4 separate regions of the Homo sapiens genome follow, and all the other regions are linked to region 4. Evidence: promoter capture Hi-C in 16 types of primary human blood cells and fetal thymus (Javierre and others, 2016). All regions are on one chromosome and are shown on one strand. Each heading gives the region's core, a stretch centred on a gene start or on the middle of the fragment in contact. The rest is flanking DNA. Distances are from core to core; before and after follow the strand shown.

Region 1 (6,954 bases), core at 179-2,678, 760 kb after region 4:
GAGGATATTTGGCTATGGAATAGGAGCAAAAAATGCAATTTGTCTTTCATGAATAAGATTCTGTGAGAAAAAGGTGGCAATTCTAGTTCATGGAGATAGCAAGGTGTTCATGCCACTTCTGAAGCACTAGATCTTACTGGCCTTCTTGTCTACCATGTTTATTTGGTTCTTTGGAAGTCAGTCTTGAGCCAAAAGTATATGGAAGATTTTCGTCCGGTCCACAGTGTCAACCTATAAAATACATTGATATAAATAAACAACAACTTGTGTTCAACACATCTTTATTCAAGGGTTCAAATTCCTTTTCCAGCATGATTGTGCCCAGTCTTCAGAGATAACAGGGTACTTATCAACCTTCTTCATTTTAAAGATGCCAAAATTGAGTCAGTAAAGTCAAGTATCAAGTTCAGCCAAATAGAATTGGAACCCAATTCCATCGTGTGTGTGTGTGTGTGTGTGTGTGTGTGTGTGTGTGTATATATAATTATTGTAATTATTATCATTCAACGGCATTTCTGAAGCTGAATGTGAATCCTGCCCACTGTGCAGGATTCAGCCAGCACCTGAAATGCAGCCAACAGTGAAGAAGACAATGTTTTAATAAAAAAATAGTCCTGAGACCACAGCACTCCCAGTTTTGAAAGCCTTAAAATAAATTCCAAATTTATTCATAATGGAAAGAAATCACAGAATCCAAGGTACAAAATTATTTCTACAGCTGCTCCAATAAACATCAGAAAAAGCCTCGCCAACTCCTTCCTGTTCAGCCTACTGGTGTACACTAGAGGAGTTTTTAAAAGAATAACTCTTATCTGTCCTCATGAAAGCTAAAAAGCTAGTCTTATCAGGTCTAAAAAGAACGTGTTCAATTTCAAGGCTTCTAAAAAAACCTTCTGGTTGTATTTACCCACTTTCTCAATTAGCAAGGGTTTGAAATCCTGAAAAGCTTTCTTACTGCCTTAATTTTATAGTCAATGACATATATGCAGATATAGGTATAGATATGTAAAGAGATATAGAGATAGACATATATCTCATCTATCTCCCCAACTAGATTGTTAAACTCATGAATCCTAACTATAGCTAGAGTCTTCATCAATGTATTCATGTGCTCAGGCTGCCATTATAGAACACCACAGACTGAGTGGCTTAAACAATAGGAATTTATTTTCTCACAGTTTTAGAGGCTAGAAGGCCAAGACTGAAGTGTCAGCATGTTTGGTTTCTTCTGGGGCCTCTCTCCTTGCCTTGTAGATGACCACCTTCTCTCTGTGTCCTCACATGATCTTTCCTCTCTCTGTGCACAACTATCTGTATCCTGATATTCTCTTTTAATAAGGACCCCAGTCACGCTGGATTAGGGTCCACTCATATGACTTCATTTTACCTTAATTACTTCTTTAAAGGCCCTAACTCCAGTACAGTCACATTCTGAGGTACAGGGGTTAGGACTTCAACATATATAGTTGCAGGCGACACAAATCAGCTCATAAGACTGTATCTCCCAAGTATTTATGGTTTGCCCATGAAGAGGCCTCCATAAACGCATGTTGGTTAATGACTTGATGTAAATAAATATACAAGCTAATTCTGAATGGATGGAAAAGTATGGTGAGCTTGAAAAATCATCCCACATCCTTACCCTTTCAATTGTAATTAAAAAAAAAAAAAAAAAAAAAAACGAAAACAAATACAGAGCTCCTTCCTAATTCTGTATAAAGGCACGGGTGGTGGTGCCACACACACCTCTCCAAAAGGAAGCAAGACCTGCAGTATGCAAAGAACATTCCCGGAAGCTACCAAGCAGGGATGAGGCTTTTGAAAGCAGGCCAGACAGCAAGAGAAAAAGACACTGCTGTGATAAGGTTTGGAGGAGCAACTCCACGATTCACAGCAAAAGTATAGGATGCTAAGCTTTTTTCCCCAATTATTTAAAATGATGTAACTGGAGTGTTATTAGACATCAGAGAAATCTAGGTTGAAGTCCTGTCTCTTATCATGTAGGTGAACTTGAGCAAATTATTAATTGTCTCTAATGTTCCTCTTCCTCATCTGTAAAAGAGATAGCAGCTTTATTGTGAGAATTAAATATGCTAATTCACTTAACGTGTACTGACATTAACTGAGTGTTCGATTAATGTTAGTTTCTTTCCCCTTCTGACTTCCTCCTCAACCAAGACACAGTTTTTCCTCCTCAACCAAGACAGTTTTTCCTCCTCAACCAAGCACAGGCTCGCTAGAACACTGAAAGACCCCACTTCTCTCTAACACACTGTTTCTCAACTTTAAAAATCCACATGGCTCTTGATCATACAAAACTTTACTTTTCCACACCCTTTGTTGAGATTTGTAACTGTGACCTCTAAGATAGGTCGGAATATTAAAAAGGCAAATAACGCACACAGATTCCCCAAATCTCTCTCTCCAAGCCACAGAAAGCAGGGAAGATGAGCCTGAATGTCTGTCTGTGTGTGAGTGAGTGCGGGGTGCATCAGAGCGGATTCTCCCATGCTGCTCTCCAGTTACTTAGCCCCTGTGTAAGAATTAAATTATTCCCAGAAGTCACAGACAAGTCAAGTCAGCTGTTTTACTTAAAGGAGCAAGACAAAACCGAAAGCCCAAAATGGAAAACTGGAGAAGAAAGCAGTTGTTTGGGTGACAAACAATCACTGAAGCTCTTTCCGGCAACTCAAAGCTGGCTCTCAACACCTGATTATTTTCAAGAAGAAACGCAAATGATACGTGTTTGTTTTGTGGTTTATCAGTAAGCCAACTTGCTTGGTGTTTGCTAACCCTCTGCATTTGACTATATGGACCCAGCATTGGTAAGGGCAGGGAGGAAGTGAAAGAGGCATCTTTTAGATTTATTTTGCTTCTTAGTCTGTCTGCATCCTGGCAGGAATCCACCAGGCTTGTTTAAACATATTACCCATTTGTTAGACAAAGGGAGCTAAGCTGTGCCAGGTGCCTGTGGCATTATACAGGGTTAAGCAATGGCAGGAGAACATTTCCACAATTATCTTTCAGTCTGTGATAGACCTAAAGGAGCCAGCAAAGTTTGTTTACCGACCTTTCCAAGAAGTCTCAATGGGAGATGTGGGGACACTGAAAAAAATAAAAGAATATATTACAGAAAATTATTTTAATAAATGGAAAAAGACTCAAGATGTCTACACCCTACCTGTAACTGCATATTCTGGGTTACCTTTGTCATACTCTATAATTTCATGTATTTGATATAAGCTACATTCTCCTAAATTGGTTTGATCCAATGCCAATCACATACACACACACATACAGCCACATTCAAAAAGACTAAAAAATCTTTTTTAGTCCTAAAATCTGGGCTACAGTAGTGATCAAACATCTAAGAGTAACCTTCTAGGATTTGCTACTTTTCCCTTTCTGAAGCAAAGCATTTTGACATACATAGGTCATTCTCTGGCAAAAAAAAAAAAGAGAGAGAGAGGAAAAGGCAGAGCTCAGCAACTGCTTTATCAGAAGAACTCACAGGCATTAAATTTCTAACAAAGCTAACCCATGTAGTGTTTGGCAGCACAGTACTCCCAGACACACACACACACACACACACACACACACACACACACACACACACTCACATGTGCCCTGCAATTCTGCTCTATCAGCCTCTAGTTCTTCCCACTTGGCTCTGGGAGAAACAGACTAAACATCTTAACCCACCCTTAACATTTTCTGTACTCAGAACAACCTGATTAGAGCCAGATCTCACTTTTAATTCTGTTCTTTGAGACATCTTCCAGAAAGAAAATATACCTGTCTAGGGAAAGTTTAGAACAATGGCTAGAAATAGATACTGAGGCCAAATGAACACTTTTTGCCTTTGACCTGAATTAAAGGCAGCAAAAAGCAGAATTGGAAAATAGAATGGCTCTCTCTCTCAGCCTCTCTGGCTGTCAGCTCTCCACGTTAAGTGCTAAGGATACAAGATGAGCAGGACAGATGTAGTCTATGCTCTCATCGAATTCACAGAACAGTGGCAGAAATAGACAAGTCAAGAGGCAATTTCAGGACAGTCTGATCATGGCCTACAAGTCCTTTTGCTATCTGACCCATACTTAGCCATGATAAAGATTTGGGGAGTCAGAGAAGTCCTTTAAGCAGAGGCGTGACATGATCCGATCTGCTGTTTAGAAAAAGCACTTTGGCTGCAGTAGAGAGAATGAATTTAGGAGAAGTACAGTTAGTGGTGGAGTGACCAGTTTTAAGGCAGTTGAAGTAGCCCAGGGGAGAGATGGTGGTGGCCTGGCTTACAGACTTGGCATGGCAATGGCGAGAAGTGAACAGATTCAAGCAATAATGAGGAAACAGAATCCCTGCCTTCCTTCAACCGTGGGAATAGAAATGATGCACAGCTTGGGGGGAGGAGGAGTGAGACATTTCATTTTTTGCCTAATATTCTTCAAACACAAATTATCATTCCACATTTTCCCTTAGAAAATCACCATCTCCCATTCATCTTCACTGCAATTCTTGGTAATTGAAAGAAATATGGAATCCATCATTTATTTTGAACCCAGAAAGGTCACACAGTTCTCCTGGCCAATACAAGTGGTTTGCTTTGAAACCATCCCACGTGTATTTTCCACAGGCCCTGCACAGCTACCATTTCACTCCTGGCACTTGTTCATCATTCCATTTTCTCAAAGTGAATGACAAGCAAATGGTAATCAATGTTCCCAATAAAAGTTTTAGGAGATAATTACAGTGACGGGAAGCATAGTCATTACAATAGTCATGCTGGGTTTGTTGTGATGCTACTAATCACACCAAGTTTTCTGATTCATGTAAATTGCAGGTAACTTTACTCCTCTAGAATTTGCTATTAATAGATAATATTATTATGCTAATAGCTGCCTAAAGTATAATTTAAGAATTTCAAGTGATCTAAGCCAGATATTTTAAAACACTATAATAACCTAACAGATATGAGCCAAAAAATAAATTTTATCACATTTAAGGAAATTATTTTGAAGGAGAGACACCTGCAATTTACACATTAAAAAATCAGTTATACTACATGGAGCTGAGTGATTTAATGTATGCATGTTTTTTCAATTGCTCAACAAAATAGAAATTGCAAAATATTATACTATCTAATCTCTGGTTTATTGTTAATCCATGAGTGCTTATATATACATGCTATATGCATATATATGCTACCATTTGTTCATTCACTCAACAAATATTAGCTAAACATACACACTCCTGAGCAACTAGAAGGGGCAACATAAACTCAAGTAAGTATAATACTGAAATATGTGCTAAATAGAGATAAACACAAGAAACTACAGTGCTGTAAAGAAAGATGCCTTTAACTCCATCATAGAGGGCTTCCTAGAGAAGGTGATTTTTAAGATGGGTCTTAGCAGAAAAGTCAAGAGCGCGGCAGAGAAACCCAAACAGTTGGGGGATAATCCAGGAACCGAAGAAAAGGCTATTCAAGGATATGGTAGGATCTGGCAGCCGCAAGAATGTAGACAAGGTTCATTAGGATAGGGTCAGGAGAAGACTATGAAGAGCTTAGAGTGCCATAGCAAGGTCACTGGAGCAGGGAAGAAGCACAGGCACATTATCTTTGACTTGCTCTTCAGAAAAGAGGATTATGCTTCGCAGATAATTGTTTTATATAAATTGAAAGTTTGTGGCAACCTTACAATCGAGCAAGTCTATCAGCACCATTTTTCCAATAGCATGTGCTCACCTCTTGTCTCTGTGTCACATTTTGGTAATTTTCACAATATTGCAAACTTTTTCATGATTATTATATCTGTTATGAGATAGGTGATCAGTGATCTTTGTTGTTATCTATTGCAATTGTTTTGGGGTGCTACAAACCATGCCTTATAAGACAGCAAACTTAATCAATAAATATTGTGTGTGTTCTGACTGCTCCACCGACCAGCCCCTCCCCCGTCTCTTTTCCTCTCCTCAGGCCTCCCTATTCCCTGAGACACATAAATCTTGAAATTAGACCAAATAATAACCCTACAATGACCTCTAAGTGTTCACATGAGAGGAAGAATCCCCTGTCTCTCAATTTAAATCAAAAGCTAGAAATGATTAAGCTTAGTGAAGAACGCATGCAGAAAGCCCAGACAGGCCAAGGTTAGGAGGCTGGGTCTTTGGGAGGTAATTAGATTTAGATGAAGCCATGAAGGTGGAGCCCCCATAATGGGCTGAGTGCCCTTATAGGAAGTGGAAAAAATACTAGCACTCTCTCTCTCTGTCTCTACCACGTGAGGCCACCGTGAGAAGGCAGCCATTTGCAAGCCAGGAAGAGGGCCCTCCGGAGGAATCCAATCAGCTGACACTTTGATCTTGGACTTCTTAGACCCCAGAACTGTAAGCCATCAATTTCTGTTGTTTAAGTCACACAGTCTGTGGTATATTGCTATAGCAATCAGAGCTGACTAAGATATACCCCTTCCCTCCCATCCTCCTGACCTGCTAACTCGGGCTCATCCTTCAGCTTTTGCCTTAAATATTACTTCCTTAAGAAGTCTTCCTCGAACCACTATGATTGGTCAACGATCCCATGTCCATGCCCTCCTCTCTTTATACACTCAAATACAAACACACACACAATGTTGAAATGTCTCAACACTCACTAAGGGTTTGGTCAGTGTTACTTGGAGATTCATTAATTATCTGGCAGGTAGTTTAATAGGAAATAGTTTATCTATCCAATTACCTCTAGCTTCACAGTCCTCACTTGAAATCAGGGCTCCATTTGATTGGGAGTGATGGGAGGAGGACAGTGAGGGCTTGGGGAGCAAAGGGCAGCTGGAGAAAGATAGTGGGGGATCTTAGTGGAGGGATAATGAGAGGAAGCAAAGGGACCCCCAGAAGTGGGGAACTCCAAAGGGCTACTGAGAACTGTGTATCTGATTGCACAGAACATCAAGTTCTGGA
Region 2 (7,246 bases), core at 387-2,886, 790 kb after region 4:
GAAACTCAATAAGTTTGTCCTATGGATGCTCTACTCTGAAGAATCTGGAATACCCATGCCTATACCATGGAGGACCTGAGGACCCACCATCTATTCCAATGATCCACCATCACCACCCTCTAAAGATGGAGAAAGGTACAAGAGTTTCAACCTTGGCCAAGTCTAGTGCCAGGAAAATGGAGCTAGGACAGGGTAGGGAAATCATAGAGGCAGAAAAAAAAAGAAATCAGGAAACAAAAAGTCTGCTTGGAAACCCATCAAAGGCTGACACAGTAGGGCTGAAAGGCAACCCAGTGAAGAAGTCTTATACCTCACTCTGGACTTTGTGTTTTTCCATGATCAGCTTATACTGAGCTCTTCTAAGCAATAGACTGTTTCTCAAGACTTTCTAGATGTTGCATGGCTATAAGATCCTTGTCTGGACCTACAAGGTCCAGAAGAAGAAACTGAAGCCCAGAGAAGTTAGGTAATTTGCACAAGAATACTTAGCTAGTAAGAAGCAGAGCCAAGATTCCAGCCCCGGGCAGCTTAACTCCAAAGCCCATGTATTAGTCACTACCCTACACACCTTCTCACCAGTGACAATTCTCCTGCCACATTTCCTCTACCCCACTAATGTACACTGGTAGTGTAAAAATTCAATATTCATCATTTTCTTCTCTGATGAAAAAGTTATTTGCATTGATTATGTATTTATTTGCATATTTCTAGGTGCTCCATAATATTCTAAATAACTTCCTCCACTATTCATTCCACACTTATTCAACACATAGCTCCTGAGTTTCTAAGGCAAGCGGGGCATTGTGCTGGGTGCTTAAGAAAGTCACAGTCCACTGAAAGAGATCACATTAAAATGAAAATAAGTGCTTGGTTTCCCATGGTACAGTAAGGCATAACCAAGATATTAGAGCTTGCTTATTGAGGTGCAATCCAAAACCACATTACTGGGCTATAATTTTCTATTTGATTGACAAGAAAGGACTAAGCGACTGGCCCAAGGTCAAGCAGCTAGTCAACAGCAGTTCATTTCACTTACTTTATTGTCTCTGACATACCATGTTTTCATGATTCACCCCCTCTTAATAGCCTTATGTAATGTTCAAAACATATTTTATGTTTTATAGACATTTTTTAAATTTAAAGCCAAAGAAGCAAAAGCGTCAAAAGCTAACGTTGGGCTGGATCACGTTTCAGCTGCCAGCTTTAAGGAGAGCAGAGTGCCTATAAGGTTTGGCTTCTCCCCAAGCATATTTCCAGGCTATGGAAGCAGTTAATTCTGCCCTAAATGCATGCTGTGTCCTCATCTCCTCAGTAGCCCTCTATCCAGGCTGAGACTTAATTGGTTTGGGTTGGGTAATTCATAGTGCCTCATTAGGGCATCAAAACACATACTAGGCTCTCTAGTAATTTTCTCCCCTGAAAAACATTGATTGGCTCCTTCATTGGGAAAGGAATTAGCTAAAAGACTACTGGGCTTGTACAAAGAGATTAAGTTCACAATGAATAATTTCAAAGTGTATTGTACAATCAGATTTCTTTGAGCCTATCTGTTGGTCAAATTTTTCTTTTCTTGCTATCACTTCTTGCACATCTACCCAATAGCAAGTGGACTATTAGTTACCTTGCAGAAATTAAATAGCCTAAGCATTCTAAAGTTTTTACTTGCCTGTCTCTCTATTTTCCTTTGACTGAGGTGAACTTTGTTAATGCACTGATAGGAAAACCACCAAAAGATGGCTTTTCTGCTGAACTTGATCATTAATTACTCCATCTCCCATTCTTGCTATAGCAGGCTTGGTCAGCACCCTGTCCATATCCCTTCTCTATATACATCAAAAAGTGCTAACTGTGAATACCTACCATTCTCTGCTTATGTTTTCTGGCTACAAGAGACAGGTCAGCCCTCCTACAGGGCAAGCTGGAAGTGCTAGGGTGTCTATGACCCTGCAAGCAACCTTCCATCAATGACAGATGGGATTTGGTTGATAAATACCCCAGATTTCTCACCTCCCAGTTGGAATAACTCTGAGATATGTTTTACACTCTTTCCCAGAGTTCCTGGGCAGAACAAGCTCAAGTTGCCTAAAGAGATGACTGGCGCGCCAATGCAAATTTCAGCGGCTTGTTTTTGTTCCCTGTCTCATTTCCATACTCCACTATCAGTGTGTCTTGGAGTCACCTCCCAAATATACTACTTCCATTTGATTCATTGTACCAGAGTCTGCTTCTGAGGCACCTAAAGCAAAACAGTCATCATGATCTAGTTAGTCTTTGGCTCTCACCACCTGACACTTAATTCTTGAGGTCACTGTGACAACAGTTACCCTGACATGAAGGGAGCTGAGCTTTCTCAGTTAATTCTGTGTTCACTCTATGAGCCAGATCTGGGGGCTAAGGGAGTAGATTTGCCAGGAGTCTGTTTTCATTAAAGTTCAAATAACTTCCCGGAAAGTAACTTACCCTAAGAGAAGGAAAAAATTGAGATCTACAAACTTGGTCCAAGGACTTTAGATCAGTGTTGTTGGGAGGAGAGGAAGTGGGTTTGAGTAGTGCCTTTGTGTACCTTTTACATTCTCTTACTCAAAATATCCTTACCCCATACCCATGGTCTTCTGAAGGCCCTCTAGTAGGGAATGGTAGGGGCGAGTGAAAGGAGGGCAAGGAAAAAGAGGGAGTAAAATAAACTAGAATCAATAAAATGGTTGCCTTTCTTACAGTTGCTGAAGGAGGTCAAAACAGAGACTTGCTGTGTTTTTGCTATTGTACCCTATTTTTACCCTCAGGTTGGTATGTCACGGAGAAACACTAAAAACATTTTGGTCAGCATCCCATTAATACAATTCCCCTGACAGTAGCCTGACTTGGTGTAGGCCAAAACATTCAATTTCAAAAAACCTGTGAATTTTTCTTTCAAGACAATATTCTGAAACTTTCCTACTAAAAAAATTTAATTTAATTTAAAAATAAAGCCATTTCCTTCTCGCCACAAACTATACATTAACCATATTGCTACTGACAGCCTTGAGGGGGCTGGCCTGCTGGCTTTCTTTCTTATCATTTACTTCCTTAGAAATCTGGCATGACCCCTAGTATCAGCATGAACAAGATTGTGAATGGGACCTACTCATGGGATTATGGATTCTGAATCCTCCAGGAGTGTCCCATAATGCCCCTGTCAGTTGGTTTTGCCTTTGGGCATCTAATTTAACTGACAAATCTGAGGAATCACATGGAAGCAGCCACCTCCCCAGCGACTTCACAGATGGGAGCCCTGCAGTGAGTAAGTTATTCCAGCAAGTTTGACATTACCTTATGTTGAACATTCTCCTGACAGGTCTGCTTATTTCTTAATGGCATAAAACAAGTCACTGTTATTAAGCATGAGTCTCCCTTGACTTGATAAATACCATGGCCCCATTTCTGGCTGTTTTAATGGATGTCCTAAAGGCATCTGAACATGGCATTTTACATTTGGCAGAAGCTCATCAACAACAATTTTTTCTAATTAGCCTTGGAAGCTTCAGACTTAAATGCACAGGGTCAAATATTCCAACAAGTGAGGGACATCCAACTCTCTGGACAAGTGCACTTTTGAGAGTGAACGGAGGGCGGGAGGGCATTCGTACTGCCTGAGCACATGTGGGTACATTTTGCAAAATCAACTTAGCTGCAGATTTAACCAGAAATCAAATCATGTCCTGGCATTATGCCTAGCAGGCATTATATAGTTGTTAGTTTCGATCACAAGAACAATTACTTCAAGTTATGGTGCAGAGCAGTGTTCAAAGTCCTCAGGCCTGCGAAGTCTTCCTGTGATGCTGCTAGCTGCAAAAATCAGTAGATGAAAGAAGTGCAATACTTTATACTTTCAGCCTTTATTAACATTTTGTCTGTCAATTGGCAACAGGCACAGAGCCCTGGCACTACACCAAACACCATGTGTACAGTGCCGAGAGAGCACAAATGAATGAGGAAGACATGACCCTCAGGCTCAGAACACTGACGTCTACACGGAGAGTCACGCTGTACTGAATAAGCATGCCCAAAACTGAAGAGAAAATACAGAACTCCGTATAAAGATGAGATAAGGGGCCAGTCACAGTGGCGCATGCCTGTAATCCCAGCACTTTGGGAGGCCAAGACAGGAGAATCGCTTGAGCTAGGTGTTCGAGACCAGCCTAGGCAACATAAAGAGACCCTGCCTCTACAAAAAATTAAAATATTAGCTGGAATTGGTGGCATGCACCTGTAGTCTCAAATATTCAAGAGGCTGATGAGGGAGGATCGCTTGAACCTGGGGCTTACAGGCTGCAGAGAGCTATGACTGTGCCACTGCACTACAGCCTGGACAACAGAATGAGGCCCCACCTCTAAAACTATATATCTGTATGAGATAATGAATACAAAGCATTTAGTTCCACGCCAAGGAGATGTCTCCCACAGTAAACACAAAGTGAGGAGTAACTATTATTATTTTATTAGAAACTTAAATTCATAATTACATAAATGCTGGCAGGAAACAAAGTCAGGTTAGAAAGAAATGAGTTCTGGGTTTTAGAGAGTTAGGTTGGAGCAGAGAAGACAGGATCCATTTCCATAAGAGAGAGCTGTTCAAGCCACAACACAGTGACAGAAGTGGGTCGATTTTATGCAAGGGCAGCAGATCTAGCTAGCCCTGAACAAGGCTTTCCTCCATCAAGGAAAAGTTAAAATAAAAGGTTATCTAGTTAGGAAGGTGGACATTCACTTTTGAGGCTAGGCAGAGGAGTTTAGATTCAATAGAGTCAAAAAATAAGGATCTACTGTATGTTCTTTTGACAGGCCAGCTACATAGTTTGTAGGACCCAAAGCAAAACAAAAATGTGGAGGCCCTTGTTCAAAAATTGTTAAAAATTTCAAGACAGGGACAAGTATTAAACCAAGCATGGTTCTTTTCCGAGCACAGGGCCCTGTGGCAATGCACAGGTCACATGACCATGAAACCAGCCCTGTCTTTGGGAGCGTAATGGTGAAAATGCTTTCCAAGGATTGTGATTTTAGAATCTACTCATGAGATGCACTGGAAAAGGAAAATATTAATAGTTGAGGTAGAGATCCACAAAGTTAACTCTTGCTGTAATTTGAGAAGAGATATTGCAGAAAAGAATCTGGGAGAAGATGACAATAGATAAGACGTAAGGCATAAAGGAGAAAGAGGGTTTCAAATGATCTCAAGTTTAGCAGGTTTAAAAAAACGGGGAAGTACAATAAAAGGTCTTTTAAACGGACCAACTCATTTCATTAACTAATGCTATTATTCCCTCTGTAATATGTACAGCTGATGTTCCAGCATAGTGCATGCTAGCGCCAAACGGAAGCTCAAGGACACAATGGTTTTTGCCACTTCTGTTCATTTCTGTATACCAGGGTCCCAAAGCAGTGCCTGGCATATAGTAGTCAGCAAATACATAAATAATGGATGAATGAATTAACTTGTCAGGAAACTCATCTCTAAGAGACTGTGATTCTACTTCTATAAATTGAACTCTTCTGAGTTTACCTAAAATCAGGTACTTTCCCAAAACTGTCAACGCCATTCATTTTTGTTATAATTTAATCAATTATGAAAACAAAGGAAATGTCAATGTGAAGAGAGTTGCTTTTATAAAAACTTGTTTGAATCCTTGGACTCAATAGAGGTGAGTTATTGGGAGATATGCTGTCAATTATATGTGGACAACTGTGAAATTTGGGGGCAAAATGAATAAAATTCTAGAATTTTTTACTCAAACTGCTTTGCAAATCATTCTATGTTCTCACTCTATTTTTGTCTTATTTTAAGTTTCAGAGTACATGTGCAGGATGTGCAGGTTTGTTGCATAGGTAAATGTGTGCCATGGTGGTTTGCTGCACTTATCAACCCATCACCTAAGTATTAAGCCCAGAATGCATTAGCTATTTTCCTGATTCTCTCCCTCCCCTTACCCCCTGACAGGCCCCAGTGTATGCTGTTTTCCTCCCTGTGTCCATGTGTTCTCATTGTTCAGCTCCCACTTATGAGTGAGAACATACAGTATTTGGTTTTCAGTTCCTGTATTAGTTTGCTAAGGATAATGGTTCCCAGCTTTATCCATGTCCCTGAAAAGGACATGATCTCATTCCTTTTTATGGCTGCATAGTATTCCATGGTGTATATGTACCATATTTTCTTCATCCAGTCTATCATTGATGGGCATTTAGGTTGATTCCATGTCTTTGCTATTGTGAATTCCCTCCACTTTAAATAGATTAAAATTGAAAATAAGAATGTTATGTGTGTATTTAATGCAAGAAAGACAATGTAGACTTTACACAGCAGACCCATGCTCAAAGAAAAGGCCTCAGCCCTATGTCAAAAGATAACTAAAGGACTGTAATTTATATATCATCTGACTGTATTTATCATTTTTTATAATTTGTTTCAACTGAATATTCTAATGAACTGATCAACCACTAGACCTGAATGTATCAGATATGAATAAATTGAAGTAACATTAAGTAAATAAATGAATACATAAACTAACTTAAAGGAAATGAACAAAAATGTCAGTGTATTAGGCCAATGGTCTAATTATAGATTATAATAATTATGTATTATGTAATTATATTTATAGATTACAGATAATAGATTTTATATATATATTTTTTTGTTTTGTTTTGTTTTGTTTTGTTTTTGAGACGGAGTCTTGCTCTGTCGCCCAGGCTGGAGTGCAGTGGCACAATCTCGGCTCACTGCAAGCTCCGCTTCCCGGGTTCACACCATTCTCCTGCCTCAGCCTCCTGAGTAGCTGGTACTACAGGCGCCTGCACCACACTCGGCTAAGTTTTTGTATTTTTAGTAGAGACAGGGTTTCACCGTGTTAGCCAGGACAGTCTCGATCTCCTGACCTCATGATCCGCCCATCTCAGCCTCCTAAAGTGCTAGGATTACAGGCGTGAGCCACCGCGCCCGGCCTTTTTTTTTTTTTTTTTTTGAGACAGGGTCCTGCTCTGTTGCTCAGGCTGGAGTGCAGTGGCACAATCATGGCTCATTGCAACCCCGACCTCCAGGCTCAAGTGATTTTACCACCTCAGCCTCCTTAGTAGCTGGAACTATAGGCACATACCATCATGCCTGGCTAATTTTTTTAATTTTTTGTAGAGACAGGATTTCGCCTTGTTGCCTAGGCTGGTCTCAAACTCCTGGCTTCAAGTGATCCTCCCAACTTGGCCTCCAAAAATGCTGAGA
Region 3 (6,615 bases), core at 1,368-3,867, 840 kb after region 4:
GCAGGAAATGAAAGGTCATAATAGAAATAGATGAATCCTGACTTCCTTTTGATGGCAAGCCTCATTTTGACTAGTCAGGATATTTGCTGGTGATATAAAAATATTTCCCGGGGATTTTCTAATTTTTATGTTTTTAACTGTAGGAGAAGAAAAATATCTTTTCCTTTACCCATCATAGGTTGATGGCTGAGGTCCCCACGGCAATGGGAGGCAATATTGCTCCCCGGGGACATTTGGCCATGTCAGAATACACCGTTTATTGTCACACTAGAGGAAGGGGTCCTACTAGCATCTAATAGGGAGAGGCCATGGATGCTGTTAAATAGCCTATAATGCACAGGCAGCTCCTCCGTCCCAAACAGAGTTAGCAGCGCTGCGGTTGAGTAGAAAAATGCTCTAAGTTCACACATAAGTGTCATAAAGATCTTTGTGGGGTCACAAGGATGAAGGTCATCAACTTCATGCATAATGATTGAAATGGGAGGGGTCTAGCAGATCCAAACTACTTGATTATTTGATATTTCACAAAATACTGACTAATCTGCGTCATAATAACTATTGCTTACTGTCAAATGAGATTATTATCTCTTCTTAAAAGCCCATGTGTTTGAACTCTGTGGAAAGTAACACCACAAGAAAAAAAATCAGGGAGAGTTTGAAGAACTGTTTGTCACTGTTTACATTTCCCTCAACCCAGGAAGATGAGAGAAATTCTTGGAGCTTTCTAAATGCTTTGCTCGAATAAAGTGAAACCCACATCCACAACATCAAACATGCCAACAAGACATCACTCCCTTGAAATTCAAAGAGAAAAATACTCTCAACAAGAACTGTGGAAGCTTAGGGTAGTATAAATGTTTTAAATGATTTTCTTAAAAAAAAAACCTTACTCTGAAAACTAGTATCCTTAACAAAGGAAGATCAACTCTACATAAGAATTTTAAAAACACTCAGGTGGAAGTAGAACAAAAGCAAGAAGATATATTTAGACACAAATGCTGTAACTGTTTTCCATTGACAATCATTCCAGAAAATTTCTCCAATTAGGCAAATAAAGGGGTTTTAAAGGCATTCTCAGATGTGCTTATTAGTGTGGATTATTGTTTCTTTTTTGTTTGCAAACAGTATAAGACAAAATGGAGTTTCATCAGTCAAGGAGTTATTCAAGATAAAAATTAACAAATTACTTTTTCGGGTGAAAACTTTTACTCACTTTTTAAAATCTAATTTCCACTCTACCTAAAGATAAGTTATGAAATCAGTACTGTAGAAAGGGAGAAAGAGAGCACATATGTGGCACCTTTGCTTTTATTGTCTTCGAGCCAAATCCTTGACATTCATTATTAATATATTATGGTCATAATAGATATTACAATCAAAAATCATTTGCCCGATTGTTCCCTTTTTGACCCATAGGTCACAGAGTATCCTATTTATAATTCTGCTTTAGAAAGAAGTTTAAGAAAGGGACAAAATAGCCTCACCGCTTCATTGATTAACAAGTTGAGTTGAGTTTCTAAGCCCCTGACCTCACTCTAGATTTGGTGCAGCAGAGAGAGAGAGCTGGACACTCAGGAGAGGTCTGGGTAGAGTATTAGCCAAGGACAAAGCACTATACTGGCTCTCGTGTAGCTTAGATACCAAGTGAAAAAAATGATATGAGAATGTAATGAAAGCCTAATAAAATCCATTTCAAACCACTGCAGGGTAGGGTCAAGAGTCCTAGGGAGAGTCCAGACAGGGACACGTGTGACCGCTGAAATTAACATCTCACCTGGCAAGCCCCACTGCTTCACTTTGATTGGCACCCAGCTCAAGAGCTCATCACAGTGGTTCGAGGCATTCAACCTGCTGGGCTCCTTTTCTCACCAACTCAGCTGCTCCCCTTGTCCAACCCTCAGGGATTCTTTCTCTGGCCCAGTGAAAGATGACCAAGCAGACACAGCAAAATATGTTTTTAGAGGAAGAGGAAGAAGAAAAGGAGAAGGAGACCATGGAAGCACTTGTGAAAACATGTTTGGGAGAAAAACAAGCCTGGACTTCTAGACTGATACTATTTTGCTTCTAAATAAACCATTGGAAAACACTACATAATAGTAGCTAACTTTTATTGAGTGTTTACTACATGCCAAGCTCTTTCTAAATACTTTTCATATGTTAGCACAAGCTTCACATCAGCCCCTGTAGTTTGTACAGTTATTGCCCCACTTGTTGGATGGGGAAAGTAGGACACACACCCTTGGTTACACTAGTAAATGGCAGACCTGGAAGAGGAATCCAGGAAGCCTGACTTCAGAGCCCAGGCATGCTCCTAATTGTCTTCATCTCCCCTTGTCTATCCAATGCCTATGCTGGATGGCCATTGCTATGGCATGTTTTATAGAGAGAAAATGAGAAGCACAAAAGCTGTATGACCATCCACAACCCTGATGCTATGAAAACCCAAGTATCTAATGCCTCCATTGTTTTTCTGCACCACTGGGCATATTTAACCAAATAATTTGATGAAAATAGTCCTGGAACCAAATCCAGTGTAGCAGTACAATAATAGCACGAACAATAGAAAGCAAAACACAGATGAAGAATTGTGCTCTTTTTATCAGTTGGATTGTTCTCTAATCATTTCATATATATGAATGTCTGAAATTGCAACTATAAATCCCTCAAGGATAGGAATATATATTTCTTTTTAAATATCATAGAACACTGACATGTAGTATGATTGATAATTACTGGTTAAATGAATCCATTCATCAATCAACCACATTTGTTGAATGTCTACCACGTACTATAATATACAGCAGGAAATGAAAGATCGTAACAGAACTAGATTAATTCTGACTTCCTTTTGATGGCAAACAGGATAACATAAATACCTTCAAAATCAAAAATAAAAGTATTCTCCCTTTTTTTCTTATCAAGAGAACTCAAATCCATTTGGGGTGGCAAGGTACTCGGTTTAAAAACCCTGCCCTGACCTGGATTATTCCCTGATGGTTAGAGGAGGCCATGGAATTAGTGCTGGCTGATTAAATGTAAGCAAAAAATCACAGGGTGGAGCTGCCAGGAAAGCTTTTGAAAAAGGCACCAGCTCTGCAGGTCTCTGCCTCTCTACTTCTTCTTGCCTGGCATAAACACATGGCTGAGTTTCCAGCCAGGATGACTGTGGAGAAGCAGGAAGGAGCCCAGGTCCTAAGTGACCTTCATAGATACCAGCACCTGCCCTGGACTGCCCTGCTCTGGGTTCATGTCACATGAGGAAAATATCCACCTTCCTCGTATAAGCCTAGGAAGCCAGGTTTCTCTTCCATGCAGCTGAACCTAACCGCAATTGCTGATGACTGCTTATCTGGTCTGTCCTCCCTCGCCCCTTACTGGTTTTGAGAAGCCAGTAAAATTCTTCTAATTCTGTATATACAGCCACAGGCAGAGATATTTTTAAAGGGGAAAGAAACTCAAGGAGATACAATAATTACTAATTACACATTATATAACTCTTACAGGTTTGATTATTTTTGGAAATTATTTGGAAGAAAAACAGTAGATATTTTATAACATTTTTTTCTTCAAGGTCCCCATCTGTTTATTTTTTACACCTTTTTGATGAAATCACTGTTCATATTATTTGCCTCTTAAAAGTTTCTCGCATATGAAGTTTTTGAATGATCTCCCACTAGACTTTCTAGTTGATTTTAATTACTATTTCTTGTTCCAAAACTAAACTGTATCATGACATCTGGGATCTTCTAGATAATATTAGATTTGAAACATTATGTAGTTTATTCTTAGAGTTGAAATCAAGTCTTCATATAACTTCTAAGGCACTTATTGAAATGACTGCTCAAAAAAAAATTGCTAAAGGAATCAACTTGTTCTCTCAGATGTTTAAATAGTATCCTAGTCATCACTTAAACAACGTTGCATAGTTAGCCTTGTACTCATATAGCATAAGCAAACGTATTTAGGTCAACCTCAATATTTTTTGGAACTGTACATATTTTTTCACTTCACAGAACTACCTCACAAACTTGATATGTTGATATGCCATCTGCTAGCTTTACAGTCTCAGTTATTCATATATCTCACGTCAAAACACCACCTCACTTTGCTTAATTGCCTCATAATTGAGAGAAAAGTTTGTTTCAGTTGGGAGTTATTGGAATGACTGTTTTATTTACTCCCAAACATTAATACTCTTCACCTTTCAGTGTGAGGATCTAACTTTTAACTTGGTTAAAAGTTACTTTAGAAAATATTCAAAAATAAACATACTAAATGAAGAATCAAACTCAGAAAAACTTGCCTGGCACTTACTCAAGTTATGCAAACTCATAAATAACTAGGAGATGAAGTTTGGTACTGATGAATTGCTGCATAGCATGGGAAATTTATTTTCTAGGGCAGTCTCTGGCTTTTAGAAGCTTAAATTACATACATCTCTTAAATACAAATGACTGCACCAGCCAGTGGGTTCCTAAAACTCCCCTTTCCTCTCCACTGTCACTACCTAGAATTTCTTTCTCCTGTCTCTCCTCTTTCCTCCTCTTCCCCAACTATAACCCTTGTGCTATGGAGGCCCCAATCTGCAGGGGTAGTAGAGATGGAAACAAATGTGAGAGAAGAATAAAGAGTCAACCTTCATCGCTCATTTCTTCTGTCCCTCTGTGCTTTGTAACTTCTCGAATCACCTATTGAGGGCAGGGGGAGGGGCCCTCCTTATGACTTCATACAACCTGCTTCATGATCTGGCTTCTAGGCATTTTTTCTTGTGTCATTGCCTAAAAAGTTGACCAATTCCTAGGAGGAACCCTACTCAGTTCAGTGTGGGCATCAGCCCAGTGTGGGTCTAGCTCCTGCCTGACCTCCTGGGATGAACATTCTTCCCACGTGCGGTTTCCTCATTTCACATCTTCCTGACTACACACTGAGCAACTTGAGATCAGAAAATGTCATTCATTTTTTGTAACTTCAAGGACCAGGAGGCTTGCTCAGTGTCTGGTGCTAAACTGGCAAAAAAAAAAAAAAAAAAAAAAAAAAAACACGCAGTGCTTAAAAAATATCTGCTGTAGCATTACTAAATGACCCTGGCACCTCTCCAAGTGCCTCATCCCAGAGACCCTACTCTTGCCCTCACCCTGCACGCTCCCCACCAAAAGTTACTCTTACATTGTAAAGAAGAAAGATGAAGTTAATTGAGTTGATATGGTTATAGATAACAGCCAACATTTAGTCAGCCTTTATGCTGTCTACATACTATTGTAAATATGCTACATCTATTGTGACCTTTAATTATTGAATCAACCCTCTGAGGTCTTGATGCTCTTCCTGAGTTAGAACTCCAGAACATATGTTCTCTACTCCGTTAATAGCCACTGACAGAATATAGCCAGGCATTAAAAAACAAGCATGACAACTAGGTAGGAGCATAGAGAATAAGAAGATAAAAAGCATATGTGCCTATAATCTATAGCTATTGAAATATATCATTGTAACAAGAGCTGAAAAGGAATGCCCAATGATAAGCAGTCTTTTTAAATATGTTATTATTGTTTTAAAAAAAACTTATAATATAATTCAAAGGTACTTTTAATGAGCTGGACCTATGTTTCAATGAATATCAGAACCAACGGTTAATGGAGGCTCTTAGAGAATGCTTGAAATTCTTAACTCTCCTTTTGCTTTTTATTTTTAGTCTTTGCCTTCTTTGCCAAATCCCCAAGCTGAGTGCTCACTTCAGACGCTGAGAAGAATGGAAGTGGGGGAGGAGAGCTAACACTTGTTGAGATTGGTAGGGAGGGACAACTAATGTTGCTTCCATCTTGTGTAAAATGTATATAAACACATCTTCAAATCTTTCTTTCCAACCAAACCCTCAGCCCCACCTAGAAGGAAATTACGGAGTCACCAGTAACTGAGTGTCTACTGTGTGGCAGGCTCCAGGAGGCTCCGTGGCACAGTGGCTTTTTCAACAGTGGAACAGAAGAGGTAAGTCAGGTTAGAAACCACGTAGCAGTAAATGAGGAAGTAAAAGAAGTCTTAGCAGAAAATCAGTGAGGGATGACTCCAAAGCAGATTGAGAATCAAGAGTTATTTCAACTTGGCCAGGTGGGGTGGTTCACACCTATAATCCCAGCACTTTTGGAGGCTGAGGCAGGCAGATCACTTGAGGTCAGGAGTTCAAGACCAGCCTGGGAAACATAGTGAAACCCCATCTCTACAAAAAATACAAAAATTATCTGGGCATGGTGGCATGCGCCTGTAATCCTAGCTACTCAGGAGGCTGAGTCACAGGAATGCTTGAACCCTGGAGACGAACGTTGCAGTGAGCTGAGATCACCTGGGTGACAGAGCAAGACTCTGTCTCAAAAAAAAAATAAAAATAAATAAAATAAAAAATAAAAGTTATTCCAACTCAGGGATTTGTGCTGGCAGATTTGGCCCCTCCCGTATCTCTGTATCTCCTGATCCCGAATTCCACTACCATTCACCTACCCCAGACCTATCCTATTGGAGAGGGTTTCTACCCCAGCCAACCTCGATTGGTTCAGGAATATGAGAATCTCCTATCCCAATACGTGGCTGGAAAGGAAGGTAGAGGAAGGATAAGGCCAGGTC
Region 4 (7,307 bases), core at 2,956-5,455:
CATTGCCTCTAAGACTCAATGACATATAACAAGTGAGGGATCCATAGCATGATAGTCTTCACTATTATGTTATTTTACCTCATAAAAGCCATACAAGCATGCAAAATGTTTATGACAAATTGATGCAAACTTTACCTGGGATTTGAGTACTGTTCTTTAGTCTATCTCCTCTCTCCTCTCTCTTCTTTCCTTCAAAGATTAATCACAGCTTTTCTGCTCTTTTTAAGCTTCCTACTTAACACCTACCCTCATTCACTTTTTTTGTGGATCACTGTGCATCTTACTTCATTGAGAAAATAAGACCATTGGTCGCGTGTCTCTTAACTTCTGCGCCCCCTACCCACCACACTACCTGTAGACATATCCACATCAACAGAGAACCTCCCTTTCTCCCTCTGTTTTCAAGGGCAAGTGTTCTGCCCTTCTGTTGTAGTCTGGCTCCTCCTTATCCTCTTACCCCTGTTGCTTATTGTTTCTTCTGAGGTTACTAGTCATCCTTCTCTCCTAATCTGCAACCCCTCTCTCTCTATGAGTTTCTCTCCCTCAGCCTGTAAACATGGCCAAGGCCCAACTCCTAACTTTCCACTCCAGTCTTTCTCCCTCTTATTTGAACTTCATGGAGAATACTCCACAGGCACTGTCTTCATTTTCTCACCTTCCATGTCTGCTTCAGCCTACCGCAACTTCTCCTCCCTTAACATTTAGTTGAAATTGCCCTTAACAAGTTTCTTGGTGACCTGCTATTTTTTAGATCCAATGGAATTTTTTCATCTTCATTTTATTGACCCCCTTTGCTGAGTTTGTGTGATATGGTTGATTTCTTCTTTATGTGAAAAGCTCTACCTAACTGGCTTCCAAGGCAGCACACTCTCCTGATTCCTCCTATCTCTTTGTTTCTTAGTGACTCCAATACTGGCATTTTCCAGGTTCTATCCCAAGTTGTATCCCTACTGTTGTAGCCACTTTCCACACTTTTCTCTGATGGCTCAAAATATTGCCTACATGTTGATGAAATCCCAAATCTGGACCTCTTTCCTGAGCACTGTATCCCAAATATTTATCGTAAGTTCCCCCTTCTTCCCTACCTACTTGGAATTTCCATTTGGATGTCAGTCATCTCACACTCAACATGTTTAAAACTAGATTCTTATTTTCCTTTCCTAAACCTATTCCTCAAATCATTTCTCCTTTCAGCTGATGGAAATTCAAATTTCCATTTACTTATTCCCCAAAAGTTGGTGTCATCTTCAACTTCTCTCTCTCTGTTGGACCTTATATCCAGTCCATCGATGAGTCTTATCCCTTCTACCATCAAAATATATTCAGAATCTGACCACTTTCACCCTCTCCACTGCTGCCACCCTTATCTATTCCGCCATCTTATCCCACCTTGATTGCAACAGCTCCTAACTGAGCTCCCTCCTCGTCCCTTGCTCCTCTCTGGTCTGTTCTCTACTGAGCAACCAACATGGATTTTTGGTCACTTCTCTGACCTCATGTCCTGCCACTATGCCTCAAAAACACCCTTCTCACACCACACTTGTTCCAAAGCCATCAGACTTGTTTTCCCACCCCCAGCCTGAAGCATTCTTTTACTATGCATGACTCACCCTCTCACTTTTTTGGGTCTTTGCTCAAATATCTTCTTATCAGGAAGGGCTTCTCTTAGTATTCTATATAAAATAGCTCTTCTCCATCATCCTTTTCCCTGCTTTACTTTTTGTTGATGACCCTTTGTTTTTTTCACAGAGACTCGCTTTGTAATCCAGGCTGTAGTGCAGTGGCGTGATCTCAGCTCAGTGCAACCTCCGCCTGCTGGATTCAAGCGATTCTCGTGCCTTAGCTTCCTGAGTTTCTGGGAGTACAAATGCGTGCCACCACACCAAGCTAATTCTGTGTATGTATTTGTATTTTTTTTAGTACAGATGGGGTTTTACCATGTTGGCCAGGCTGGTCTTGAACTCCCAACCTCAGGTGATCCACCTGTCTCGGCCTCCCAAACTGCTGGGATTACAGGCATGAACCACTGCACCTGGCTGACCCTTTGTTTTTCTTATCACATCTGACACTTTACTCATATATTTTTTCTTGGGCTTCAGAATGACGGATAAACTTTATTGACTCATGCATGGCACTACTTGTGTATTTAATTAGCTAGTTGTGTGTTTGTTTTTGATAGATAGCTGTAAACTCACCATTCAACATAGAAACTAGAAGCATAAATCATATATTATGTGTGTGCACACGTATACATATACACTATATATGTGTATAGATATAATTTTAAAATTAAAATATAAATAATTTTTTTCCATCACTCCAGACTCAACTAGCATGTAAGCTACATGCGTACAAGGACTTTGTTTTGTTCCTTCTGTATACACAGCATGTAAAATAGTGCCTAACACATAGGCACTTGAAAATAAAGTAAGCACTGCATGTTTATATATGAATGTTTTCAACAGTAATGTAACTATTGACACGTCCCAAACCAGGGGACACATCTTTACCTCTGTTCTGTTCGGCCTTCCCTCTCTACAGTCCTTTCTTTGACTTCGCTCCCTAGAAGCATGAACTGCGATGAGCACTCCCTTCCTGCCTTTGCTTGTACTGTCTTCTACCCCTGAAACTGCACTCCTGACCCTTTGGCTTTAGGATACCTGTACAACTCGTTTTTCCAGACATTCACGAGTCACCTCCAAATGCTTTCTCGATCTGACGATTATGTGTCTTGGGGTTGATCTTGTCATGGAGTATCTTACTGGAGTTGTCTGGATTTCCTGAATTTAAATGTTGCCCTATCTTGTTAGGTTGGGGAACTTCTCCTGGATGATGTCCTGAAGTATGTTTTCTCCAAAGGCATGAGCTCCTCAAAGTTCAGGAAGCAAGTCCAAGACTTCACCCTTGATCTTTTTCCACAGCCCTATGGGGTGAATAGAAGCAGACATTAGATACAGCTCACACATGGAGAAACTGAAGTACACTCCATCATTTCTGAGCAGGAGGAATAGCTCAGAGCCCCCCAGAACTCCTCTTCAGACCTCCTATTTAATGGTACCTTGGGGAAGGGGCTGGTTCTCTGTGGCTTCGGCAAATCTTACTACAAAGCCTTGTGCCCCTCGGAAGGTAACCATGGATACTATTGAGCTGGCACAAAAGCCTTCAGTTAGTGGAGACTACAAGTGGTTTTCAGGGGCTGAAGGAATTTTCAGGAAAGGGGCAAAACGTGGAAACACTTGCAGAGGGAAGACCTTTGCCTCAGGCCCCTTGGCTGGGTGTGTTTCAGTTAAGATGGGCACTTATGCTCAGAGGAGCACTGGAGCAGTGACAGGGCTCTAATCTGGGACTGGGATAGTAAGTAGCTGTGAGGTGAGAATCAAAGGGAATCCCAGGCGCTTTTTTTTTCTTGGAAAGCTGGGACCCTGCTGTGAAATCTGGAGCGGGGTTGTTGGGGGGTTGAGGTGCTGACCAAAGCGATGCCAGCAGCAACCCAGTCTCCTGAGTGACCCAGGCCAGGGTCTGGAAACAACGGGGTGTCCTGGCAACAGTCAGGGGGAGCTTCCAGCAGGGCGAAGTCCCTATCCTCATCTCTGCCCTCGGGGGTGTTTTTCTCCTTTCGGCCCAGGGCTACAGGCAGGAGAAATTCACACCTGGAATATCTCGAGGAGGCGCCTTATTTCCTCTGAGCCCTTGCTGAGTGTCGAGAGGCAGCTCATGTCCCTCCTCCGACCCCAAGAGTCCACAGTCTTCCCTCACACCCCTTTATTCTCGGACGAGGCCCGTGTGGTGAGCGGGAACCCCTGCTGTCCCCTGGACCAGCGCGGAGCTGGGCCCTAACTTTGCAGTTCCCGCCGCATCGGCACGCACCCGCGAGGTGGGAGCGGGAAGCCCAGCCGCATTAGAGGCTCAATTCCGGCAGGTGCAGAGTGGGTGCGGGTCAAGGCCAATGAGAGTGTGTGTGGCCAAGCCCGCTGGTTTCCTGAACCGAAATTCTCCGGGGAGGGAGAGAAGAGGAGGGTGCGGGAGACGGACTTGGAGGCGAGAGGTGGCGGCAGTTTCCAGGAGCTTTGACGTAGACTTGGAGAGGCGCCGAGCACTCCCACTGCTTAAGTAGAGGCACGGTAGCCTCCAGGACGCGGAAGCTGGGGACAGCCACTCGCTCGGGAGCAGCCTGAGCGTTTCCTCTCCGCGTACTCGAGGGAACTCTCTCCACGCGTTCGAGGGAACCCGGAAGGGGCCAGGCGGGTGAGTGCGGAGGGAAGCCCTTGTGCCATCTGGGAGTAGAGCCGCCGAGTCAGGAGGTGAGTGGGGCCCAAAGGACAGAGTGGGTCCCTGGCAGCTCCGCCCTGCGGAGGGTGAGGCTGCGCAATCAAGTGCGGGGCCGAGACTCAGCGCGGGGCTCGTAGCGGGGTGCACGGAGGACTCTAGGTTCAAGGAACTCAGAGAAACACCTTTCCAGGGTCTGGGAAGCCTCTCCTAAAATTTAGAAGGGGACCTAAAGGAGCCAATTTGAGCGCCGTGGCGCCAGCAGACAGGGAGTCCCGGATAACGCCAACTTCAGTACCTTGGACAGAGTCCTGCCCTCTGAAAACTTAGCTTAGACTTGTCCTTTAGGAAAACCACCCTTTGAGGTACCTCGATATTTTAGTTCGGAAAGGGACACAACAAATATGATTTCAAGTAGAGATAATGCATACATGATATGAAAGATAGAGGAAATAGTTTTTGAATAATCTTGTATCTCTAACATGCTTCTTCAATATAGGAACATGCATGTTCAAAGACACTTTCTGAAATATTTATTTAACAGTACCTAAACATGTCCTACTGCTGTTCAGAAGAGACAGATTATCCAACTTATGGTGTTATCATTAAATATTCCAATATAAGAGTATTCCCACAAGCTGTATTTTGCTTGCTTTCATGATACTAACATCTAAAAGGTTTGGAAATATAATACAAACCTGAAAGTGAGCTGTATGTGCCCTTCCTATTTTTTCTTTATGTTAGAGCTGTTTAAATGTGATACACATTTTGTATAGTCTGTGAAGGAATATATACACTTTTTCTGGCAAAAAAAGTGAACATTTGGGTTATTATTATTTCAAGAGCATCGTTTATCATTGCACCTGTCCGAAGTGGTAACAAAAGAACAATTTCAAAGTGGTATGTAGATGACTCAATTTTATGGCAACAGACATTGAAAGCCAGAAAAGTTGAATGAGAGTCACGTTTTTTAAAAAAAAAATCCTTGAGATTCATAGCAAGAACAGAGAGATTATAAAACATTATCTTTATGAAAGTTATATCAGAATTGCAGAACATTATTGGTATTTGTAAAATGCTTATTGATTCTACTCTAATTGGTTGAATATATGTCTCTTTGTTTCCACATATATTCATCCATACTTTTAGCACATTGTCTTTTGTTAATTTTACTATAACATTTGACAATTCTGATGTATTTTTTAAAAAAATTAAAAGTCACAGTGAACAGGAATGGATCTAAAGGTTAAATATATTTAAATTCTTAATTATATATAAGTCCTAGATTAGGAGAGCCAGGTTTCGCTAAGATATTATGGAATAGTTAAAGCCATGCAGCAAAATTTTAAATGTTCACTTAGTATGCTGTTAGGCTACATTCTTCTGTACCAGAGAAAAACAGATTAGCAGATTAATTTATTCATCTTGTAAAGGAACACATCTTAGGAGGGAATATGTCTTGGCCTGACCGTCTTGGATTTATGTTCACTCCCTGGCCTGGCAATGAGTCATTTTAGATAGAACGGAGCTTGTGATATGGGAGCTTGGCTAAGATTTCCCTACTTTGTGACAATGATGTGTTTCCTTTGCTGGAAGTAAGGTTATTAAGGGCATACTTATTTTCTTTACTGAGCAGAGCACAAGCGGGGACTGATAAGAAATATTTCCATCCTGTGCAGTTTTAGGGCCATGGCTGATCCTGGGAACAGAGGAGGGATCCACCGCCCCTTGAGCTTCACCTGCTCCCTGCTCATTGTGGGAATGTGCTGTGTATCTCCTTTCTTCTGCCATAGCCAGACAGACTTGCTGGCTCTTAGCCAAGCTGATCCTCAGTGCTGGGAATCCTCCTCAGTGCTTCTCCTGGAAATGTGGAAACCTCGCGTTTCCAACACTGTTTCAGGCTTCTGGGATTTTATGATCTACCTGAAGTCATCTGAGAACTTGAAGCATGGAGCACTGTTTTGGGATCTGGCCCAACTCTTCTGGGACATCTATGTGGACTGTGTGCTCTCTAGGAACCATGGCTTAGGAAGGAGGCAATTGGTTGGAGAGGAAGAGAAAATCTCAGCAGCGCAGCCACAGCACACAAGGAGTAAACAAGGTGGTCAACCCCAGCTCCCATGTCTTTTGAAAGGGTCAATCAAGTATGAATGTGCTGAATTGTGAGGAAGAGGGAAATGGCATTAGGGGAATCCAGTGTCATATATATTCCTCTCAAGAGGTGAACCCCAAGAGCACATAACTGATAGGAAGATAGATAGTACTTCTTTTTGCATTGCATAGTAGCTGTTTATATCAACATATTGTCCTCATCCTCATACTTCCTGTGAACAGCAGCAAGGAAGAGTCAGAAAGAAAAGACAAAAAGCATGATTCCCAAAATACAGCATAAAAGTATAAACAGATCCCCCAAGATCAACATTATTTTTTACTATTAGCCTGAACACTGGCAGTCATAACCTGATGTTTACTTGCCGTGGAATTGAGAAGACTTGAATATAAGCTTAGGAAACATTTGCAGCACACAAATTCTTGCCCTTGTTAAACTGAAAATAAATATTGCTTTCATGTAAATAGAGAGGCTCTTTGAGAGGTATTCAGTTGAAGAAATAAAGAGTAAAAAAGTCAGCTGGCATGTAGATTCACTTCATGTTGCTTTTTGAATGAATCTCAAGTAAGTAATTAACTTGCAGCAATCTGAGTAATTAATTTTTAGTAAGTTGGAACTTGCTACAAATTTAGAGTTTTTCATTGAAGTAAATACTATATTCAAATAGTCTCGTCTGAGGGTACAGAAAAAAAGTCCCTTATAGAATTAGAATGAGGTTGAGTAAGCCTCTGTGAGTAAGCAGAGAGATGCCTGAACCCTATACATATTATTGTTATCTTTTTTTGATGTCATTTCAACCAATGAGCATTGAAACCTTTTATCAAGGGCTGTTTGAGTGCCAGTAACTCTTTAGAATTATATATACAACAGTAGAAAACAGGGGCATAACTAATTTTTACATTTGTACATTTTAGTGTTAGAATTGTTACAT

The links. The method cuts DNA at HindIII sites, captures the fragments that hold promoters and counts their contacts. A CHiCAGO score of 5 or more calls a contact.
Region 1: a fragment that was not itself captured here is called in contact with the fragment with the promoter of FAM237A in region 4 in 1 of 17 cell types (naive CD8 T cells); the score reaches 5.2 in naive CD8 T cells.
Region 2: a fragment that was not itself captured here is called in contact with the fragment with the promoter of FAM237A in region 4 in 2 of 17 cell types (naive CD8 T cells and fetal thymus); the score reaches 6.8 in naive CD8 T cells.
Region 3: a fragment that was not itself captured here is called in contact with the fragment with the promoter of FAM237A in region 4 in 1 of 17 cell types (fetal thymus); the score reaches 6.1 in fetal thymus.

The regions. Positions count from the first base shown.
Region 1 is chr2:207,405,738-207,412,691 of GRCh38, forward strand. No RefSeq gene overlaps it. Among named protein-coding and RNA genes, the nearest start is that of CREB1, 120 kb to the right of the region's middle. The HindIII fragment of the contact is 968 bases long and covers 945-1,912 here.
Region 2 is chr2:207,433,959-207,441,204 of GRCh38, forward strand. No RefSeq gene overlaps it. Among named protein-coding and RNA genes, the nearest start is that of CREB1, 92 kb to the right of the region's middle. The HindIII fragment of the contact is 3,759 bases long and covers 1-3,516 here.
Region 3 is chr2:207,478,902-207,485,516 of GRCh38, forward strand. No RefSeq gene overlaps it. Among named protein-coding and RNA genes, the nearest start is that of CREB1, 48 kb to the right of the region's middle. RefSeq lists an enhancer at 5,798-5,867 and a silencer at 6,098-6,147. The HindIII fragment of the contact is 905 bases long and covers 2,166-3,070 here.
Region 4 is chr2:206,638,282-206,645,588 of GRCh38, forward strand. FAM237A (family with sequence similarity 237 member A) reads left to right here and starts at 4,206. Exons shown (of 3, transcript NM_001102659.3): 1 at 4,206-4,301; 2 at 5,946-6,367. The coding sequence starts at 5,956. RefSeq lists enhancers at 3,396-3,977, 3,978-4,557. The HindIII fragment of the contact is 6,542 bases long and covers 226-6,767 here.